Linked DNA regions of Homo sapiens: region 1 is linked to region 2. The links are contacts of gene promoters, found by promoter capture Hi-C in blood cells and fetal thymus (Javierre and others, 2016). All regions are on one chromosome and are shown on one strand. Each heading gives the region's core, a stretch centred on a gene start or on the middle of the fragment in contact. The rest is flanking DNA. Distances are from core to core; before and after follow the strand shown.

Region 1 (4,240 bases), core at 850-3,349, 3.1 Mb before region 2:
AGCAGTAGAATACTGTAACAAGTAGTACAGAGTTTGAAATCAGACCGTGACCTGAGTTTGAATCCTGTATTTTCCAGTTTGGAGCTGTGTGGTTTTAGGCTAGCTGCTTAAACTATCTGTGCCTCAGTTTTAGCATATGTAAAATGAGGATGAACAAAGTAACTGCCTTAGAGGGCTGTTGTGAGGATTAACTGAATTAATATATAGAAAGTGCTTAGAACAGTAAATAGCATAGGAGGTAATATAAGTGTTTTATTATTATTCACTTATAAAAGTTTCCTGTGGTTGATTAAACAACTAAATGTGCTAGTAGTATTAGGATAAAAATGAAATAGGGAGTAAAGTCTTGGACTATATTTAAAAATAAAAGTACAGAATAACCAAATAAATGCAGGTTTCAAGATATTGAGCCATTTTAAAAATATATATATATATCTCTTTCTCACACAGTTCATTTGACAGCTCTTGTTATATGTCAATGGAAATGTCTTTAATGGCCCACCGTCAGTTAACCCACACCTCTTGGTTGCCAGAAAGATCTTAATGTGGTCAATCTTTCTCTTATAATGAATACAAAATGATTCCTCTCAGCTTGCCTGTCTTTAAATAAATAATACGAAACAAACAAACAAAAAAAGGTTTCATCCCACCATTCTTAAACCAAGTCTTTGTTCCTTTCTTGAATCAGAAAGGAATTTTTGACATAATCTTTAAAAGTTATGGGTGAAAACAGTACATATCAGGAACGTCCTTCCTATTTCATGCCTTGCAGTTCTTATGTCCTGCTCATGATCTAAGGCAAGTACAAAAACAGCAGTTTTCTGGTTTTGAAAGTCTAAATAGTGTAAATAAATGTTCCTTTTAAGAGAGGTAGAAATGGTTCTTATCTAAAGAATTCATTCAGATTTACTAAGAGGTTTCAGTGCTAAAGTTTCACTGCCACACAGATAAAAGGTGAACAGCATGGGTATAACAATATTTATTAGGGACATTTGTTCACCCCAAGAAACAGTAAGATTGGGATAGTTTATTTTAACCTTCTAGCATTATGTGTATCTGACATGTTTGTGAGGCCAGGACACTACCCTCAGTATTGGTTTACCAAAATTGGATTCATAAATGGATTTGCATTAAAAATCACTTCAATGACAAATGTTAGTCTTACTGATTTTGAAAGAATTCCAAGTATATTTCACTCTTGATTTCAAACTATGAACCATTAAAGATGATCAGTTCTGTGAAATCTCCAATGTGAAGGCATAATTTTTTAAAATTTAGTAATTCTGATTAATTATAAAAATAATCTCTGTATCTCAAGATAATCTCCATATTATATAATCATCAACTTATATCATTAATATTTTATGTACCATAGTGCTTTATAAAGCTGCTCTGTAGATAATTATTTGACATGCACTATTGTTTTAACAGACTTACCTAATCTTAGGCACTGTCGCATTAAACCTCCAGAAGACATGTTTTTCTCAGCTTCAATCTCACTAAAATTTAGAGAGCTTGCAAACACAAGTACATCAACCATAGCCATCAGCCGGCTGAGGAAAGTTACTGCTGTCTCAGCTGACATGCCTTGTGTCACTTCAATATTTTCCAATTCCGTCTTTAAAAAAGTAGAAGATTTAAGTCTTGTTTAAAATTTGGAAATTTGGAAATATAATACATATACATACATACTACAAGTGAACATAAATTTAGTATATTTACCATATTTTATAAATAAAATAAATGTTCAACTAATTCCATATATCACCAGAGCTGGTTACCAAATTCGGTTACTTTACCTATCAATTATCCTTGAATAAAGGAAAAGCCCATTTTAAAATCAACATTAGTTTTAAATGTCTTTAGTTATAAAAATGACATCCTAAACTTAAGATCATTTCACAAAGATATTTAGACAGAACCACATATATGTACTTATACTAGTTTTGTTTTGTAATTTATAAAGATTTTAAATTGATATTTCTTTTCTAAAATCTTCATTCCCATTAATAAAAATATATGCTTTGATTTTTCTTTCCTATAGATGTATGATGAATAATAGGGAAAATACATGGTAATTTAACTTAGTATCAAAATGAGATGGCTGTCAAATTAGAATGCATAACAATTTCTTATCCATTTTAGAATAAACTGAAACTACTAGGTACTTTACATGTACGATAAAACTCTAGGGTAAAAATAATCAAGATCGCTAACTCATCTATAGATATTTAATTCGTGACTTATAAAACACTAGTAATAAAAAGAATCATAGCATTCTAGATTGGAAAACTGTACTTTCACTACATTTCTGATTTCAGAGGGAATATTACAAAGCATTGTGTTTCTTAAAATGCACAACTTTATGGTTTTTTAAACAATGTCAACATTTCTTATTTTGTTTTGCACCATGGACTATACAGCATTTTAATTATTTTTGTTCCTTAGGACTAGGCCTCATTTTATCAGTGCCTCAAGGAACCAAGGAAGGGAATACTTCATAAGTAAAAAAAAATTATTTAAATTTTCTGAAAATGGACACACTAGCCATTCCAATCAATATTAACTCTTAACCAAATGATAAATTCAACTACAAGGTTAGCATATGTAATAGGTATCTATTCCTATTTAATGTTCCATTTTGACACTGTTTATAGCCATCATTATACCTAAACTTCTTCCTGCTTGGAAGAAGCAGGAGCATTAACATGGAAACGTGAGCAGAAAACACTGAAAAAAGAACTCAAAATACTCAAAACATTTCTTGTGCACAAAGTGGGTAATAAAAAGGATAGGTGGCTACTACAAGCATTATATAACTAAGCTCAGTTTTAAATGATGTATAAAATGTAACAACCATTCCTCCTTCCATTTAACAGCAAAATAGGGTTAAAACCATTCTCTCTAAAATGAGCCTGGAAAGAGACAGAAATGTGTTTTCAGTTGTTACAACATTATGCCAATTCAGTACACATGGCATAAAGAAATGATTAATTCATTACTTGGATTTTAAAATGCAGATTCTTTACTTCTTAGCACTTCATGAATATACAGCATCACTTCATAATATCAATTAAAAATCTATGACCATGACATCATAGCTCATAAGAAAGAGCAAAAAATTCATTTTAAATCTGTTTTCAATTTAAAATGTTCTATAAAGGAATGAAGAACTTGGCCATTTCTTAGGTCTATCAAATACTATAAATAATTTTTCAAATGTTAGAATTTAGAATATCTAGATCTGTGTTCACAAATTCTTCATCATTTTGAATCACTGAAATTGCAGATAGCTATCTCTCTATATTCATTATTTAATGGTTTTGAGTGTTTTGACCTGTCAAACTATGCTTTCATTTTAAAATGAGTGAATTATAAATAGAATTATTAAGGTGTCCATATAATCCATCAAAGTGTTTTTTTGACTGAAAAAATTAAATTTTAGAGTAGAAGGCACTTTCAACACAACAGTCTAAAAGAGAATTTGTATTCCATTTTATATAAAAGTAATTTAAAAAATGAAGTATGTAAGCATCAAAAGATAGGGCTAAAAAATAAAGATCACTCTCATACAATTATTAAATCTTAAAATAATATATTTCATCCAATTTACTTTCCTTAGAACCAATTAAAATCTGATTGTACATATGACTGTAACACCATTGTGTTCAATATGATAGTTTAATCTAGGGATTATTGTGCATAATAAAATAGTAATACATCAATGCATTGGGAAAATAATCCTTTCAATGACTCTTTTAAATATACAAAAGATATGTCTCATGTTAAAGATGATATGAAAACTCAAAATATAACCAAGTCAAAAATTTCATAAATAAGTAAAAATAAAACTTGAAACTGAAAGCTGAAAATTACTACAAAAGTAATACTAACCTTAGAACCCTGGACATGCATTAGACAAAACAGACAACAGACCAAAAAGTACAAGAAAAGGAAATTATTAAATTAAATGAAAATACAATGTAAAATTGAAACACAAAATAATATATTTAAAAATTATATTTGATTATTTTATTAAAAGCAAAATTCTCAGAAGAGATTTTCATTTTATAAATTATACATGATCAAGGTTAAATATCAAATATTTAGACTTCAACTTATTTTTATTGTAGTAACTCTGCCCAAATAATATATATAAGTATAGTTCATATATTAGAAATAATGCATACTCTATTTTACAAAACAAGTATCTTTTCCTATAATTAATGGAACATTTTAA
Region 2 (4,377 bases), core at 762-3,261:
GAATGAATTGGAAGAATTCAAAATTGTATCACAGATATTCTCAAAGTAGAAATGAACAGTCATTTTGAATCATTTCCTGAAGTATGTATGTGGGGAGAGGAGTTTAGGAAGGGTGGAGAGAATATATACTTTATCTAGAGTGATTTGAAAATAGACAAGGGGAGAGAAATTTTTAAAAGAAATCCCATTGGCCTCAGTATTGTCACAACATAATTTTCTATTTAATGATGCAATGACAAAAATTGATGGAAGAAAACAGTCTGGTCTTGGAATAATCAAATATGTTTAAAAACCACGTACTGATGTCAACTCAAAAGTGAGTTTTTTCAGTTATTGGAAAACTGCTCCATAAAGAACACTGTATGTCAAATTCTTTTCATTAATCAAAGAGCAGATAGACAAAGGAAGATTCATCCTTGAGTGTAAAGTATTATAAAAATAATGAGTCCAAGTTAAATGATTTATAGCTATGACAAGTAAAGAATGCTGTTTGGGCAACAGTATTACTCCCAAATGGCTTCCCACTTGTAGAAAAACAGCTTCAGACAAGCCCCATAGTGTATACAGTGGTGCAAAATGACCTGGAAAAAATGGTTTCTATGGATATCATTTAGAGATGCACATCCCTGAATACCTTAAGGCTGAAGGTACTTTAGCTCTTTTCCTCAAAGCAATTGCAGCACAGGTTCTCCTGCCCAGGTTTTGTTTATATAAGAACAATCTTGGCCACAGGTCATTTGTGTAGGAGACAATTAATCACTAGCTCTTTGAGCACAGGTAGGTTAATCAGTATGCACATAATACAATATTAAAATTTTCACGGGGAAAAAATTTTTTTATTTAAAACAATAAAGCATCAGTAATACCTGCTGATCTTTTATCCAAAGCAAGTACAAAGGCTGTTAGTGAAATAGAGAAGACTTTCTTTTTAAACAGTTCGGAAAATACAAGGCATCATTGATCACCTGAAGGCCTCATTTTAATTTGATTCCAGATCCACGGCAGCTTAGAGGTTGTCTTTTTGAAATAGCGTATTGCTAAAATCCTTATGTAGGTCAGAAATGGAACTTCAGGAGCCATCATATTCTGCTATCCTAATAAATAATTAGGGTCAGAACCTCACTTGTTTATGTTTCAAAAAAGCACAATATTTGGACTATAGCAAACATCAGGATTTTTAAAAATTCAAATATTAAATGGCATTCAGAACATCATCCACATGGAAGAGGGAGAGATGAAATAAATCTGCAGATGCCTCTATATACAAAAAGGATGTCCTAGGTTTTGGACTATTAAATACTTTTCTTTCTTCAGACAATACCCTAAAAAAACAATTACAAAGTACTCTGAAACCCTGCCACACCCCTTTGATTAAATCACACTTCACAAAATATTTAGAGAAAGCCTGAACAAATCAAATAAACATCAAGGCAGGAAATGCAGCCAGGAATGCCTGATCCTGAGCTCCCCCAGAGTCTGAAGGGCTGCCTCACTTGAAAATTTAATCAAACACAATCTACTGTAATTCCATTGCAGCCTTTGCACTTAAGGAAAGCTAGTTCAGTCTCTGACATTTTGATTTTCACAGCAGATGGGAGCAAAAAAAGAAAGAAAGAAAGAAAGAAAAAGAAAGAAAGAAAGAAAGAAAGAGAAAAGAAAAGAAAAGAAAAAAAGAAAAACTTCCGCGGCTCACAAACATATGTGTCCAGTTGAGATTTTCTGTCTCCAGCCTTATGCAACATCCAGCAAACAAACAAACAAAAAGGTTATTTTCTATTACTCACTATTACTCCAGGATTTCAGTAAATATTTGATACTGATCTCAAAGAAGCCCGAATCCTGCTGGCTGGCCATGTCTGCGGCATACAAAGAGGCTGGGAGGACGGGCAGCGGCCGGGAGCAGGTACCGGGCGTGATGCGCCTGTCACAGGTTGTGATGTCAGCGCGGGGTCAGGCGCCCAGAGGCAGCTCTGCGGATCCACCTCCGGCTCCGGCCGGGAGTGCTCATCTAAAGGACACGGCGGAGCAGAGAGAGATGCTCGGCCGCTCCTCCTCCTCCGGGTCCAGGACTTGCTTCTTATTTGCTGGACGCTGATCTCCCTGCAGCCCTCGGAGGCGGCGGCCGCGCTGCTTTCATTTCGGGGCTGTCATCACCAGAAACGCCGGCTGCCGGCCGCCCACCAGCTCGGCTCCAGCCAGGTACGCAACCGAGGAAGACCCCACCTGAACTGGGATCGGCTTTCTTCTGGGAGGGAGGGTTTCTAGGCCGGCCTCCCTGACGCGGTGCAGGCAGCCTCCGGCCCACACGGCCGCCGCGGGGCTAAGGGATGGGCCGGGAGCGCCGCCCCCTGCCCCTGCCCACTGTCTCAACCTGAGCCGCGGCTCAGTCTCCGCCTAGGCTGCGGGAGGAATTTCCCAGCTTCTGCGGATCCTCTCTCTTCAGCAAGGCTTCCCGTGAGCGGCCCGGGTGTGCTCTGGCTGCTGCTTCCCCTTGTGTCTGTCCCTGAAATAAACACAACTGCAGCACGCTGCGGTAAGCAAAGCTGCAGCCTTGCATCTGGTTGCAGCGACGTTTTGAAAAACCCCATCCGTCAGCCTCGTTGCAGTAAAGAGACTCAACAAGAGGACGCTTGTCTGGGCTTTTTCTTCCCTGCCTTCCACACGCATGGTGGTATCTGCATTTTTACTTTTCCCTCCCAGAAATGCAGTCTTTTCAAGGGGCATCGGAGCCCGAACGTGTGCACTCTAAGGGGACAGTACACACTGCTTAGTTGGCTTGTTTTTGTAATGTCACACACTCCACAATGGATCTTATTCTCAAACCTCTCATTTCTAAGACTCACTAAGCCCAGTGAAGCTTATTTTATTTGTATGAAAAGGATAAGAAGCAAAAGCATTAGATTCCTTGCTCTACAATGGCTCTTGATTTCATGAATTCTTGATATCAGGTGTCCTGATTTTGGTTAGCTTTGTTTCACATTATCATTTAGCTTGACCAGGGGATTAAATAAGAGTATTATATTTTAATAATGACAGGTTATGTTGGAAGAGGTGGGATTTGGCCAACTATCTCATAAACCACAGGATCCTTCCCAAGTCCCAGTACATTCATGATTAATGTTGTCTAAAAAACAGAAAAAAGTAATAAACCATGTTAATAAGTATTTAACATAGCAAATGTTGGGCTAACTCCCCAAATCAACACACAAACAGGACTTCCTAGATTAACAGTTCATTTTAAAAATGGAAGGGAAAGACTACAATGTACTTTTATTGTTAGGACAAAGAATTTTTAAAATTCAACACTAAATAAAACTTCTAGAACTATGTTCTGAAAGGCCCTAAGATACTTCATCAATACAATTAGTTTTTCAAACTCATTACACTTACCCAAATGGCAAGCACTCAATCACTCAGATTTCCAACTCCACTTATACACTTTATTCTGATGAAATCTCTCACCAGATTGACTTCTTTTTAATTCATGTGCATACTAGAGTTGCTGAACTGATTTTATCACTTGTACTTTGAATGTATGGATTCTAGGTAAAATAAGACCCAAAGGTTTTACCTTGAAACAATTATTATATCTGAAAATAAATTTCATACCTACGCCCATCTGATGCTTGCCAAGACTCAGATGGCAGTGAATGAACAGGTAGGCTGCACAGTGCCCTGCGATTAACGATGGCATGGGCTCTCAAGGCAGGGCCCCATGTTCGCTCCTGGCACCAGCCCTTACTAGCTTTGAGCCCCAAAGTAAGCTATTAACTTTGCTAAGCCTTCGTTTCCTCATCTGTAAAATGGGGTTGTACCTTCTTCCTATAGTTGTTGGAAACAATAAATAACACTATGTATGAAAGGGGCTCAGCATAGTATCTTGCCCATAGTTAACACTTCATTAAATTTTAGCTACATTGATTTTTTTTTTTTTTTTTTTTTTGAGACAATCTCACTCTGTCGCCTGGGCTGGAATGCAGTGGTGCAATCTTGGCTCACTGCAACCTCTGCCTCCCGGGTTCAAGCGATTCTCCTGCCTCAGCCTTCTGAGTAGCTGGGGTGACAGGCATGCGCCACCATGCCCGGCTAATTTTTGTATTTTTAGTAGAAATAGGGTTTCACAGTGTTGGCTGGGGTGATCTTGAACTCCTGACCTCAGGTGATCCACCTGCCTTGGTCTCCCAAAGTACAGACATGAGCCACTGCGCCTGGCCCATTCATTCTTATTATGAATCCTTAGTGACTCTAGAATAGAACTTTTTTTTAAAAAGCTAAATACTTTTTTTTCTTTACTCTTTATGTGGTTTAAAAGATATATTACTTTTGAACACCAGTGGTAACTATTTGGGGAGAGCAAGTTGGAGACATTTAAAATCA

The links. Contacts are between HindIII fragments. The CHiCAGO score rates a contact against its expected background, and 5 or more counts as called.
Region 1: a fragment that was not itself captured here is called in contact with the fragment with the promoter of FRY-AS1 in region 2 in 1 of 17 cell types (naive B cells); the score reaches 6.4 in naive B cells.

What each region holds. Positions count from the first base shown.
Region 1 is chr13:35,168,650-35,172,889 of GRCh38, reverse strand. It overlaps NBEA (neurobeachin), which reads right to left. Exons shown (of 59, transcript NM_001385012.1): 25 at 3,895-3,903; 26 at 1,438-1,618. Among named protein-coding and RNA genes, the nearest start is that of NBEA, 230 kb to the right of the region's middle. The HindIII fragment of the contact is 4,581 bases long and covers 1-4,240 here.
Region 2 is chr13:32,029,273-32,033,649 of GRCh38, reverse strand. FRY-AS1 (FRY antisense RNA 1) reads left to right here and starts at 2,011. Exons shown (of 4, transcript NR_103839.1): 1 at 2,011-2,199. It overlaps FRY (FRY microtubule binding protein), which reads right to left and starts at 1,876. Exons shown (of 61, transcript NM_023037.3): 1 at 1,785-1,876. The coding sequence starts at 1,854. The HindIII fragment of the contact is 3,062 bases long and covers 1-2,859 here.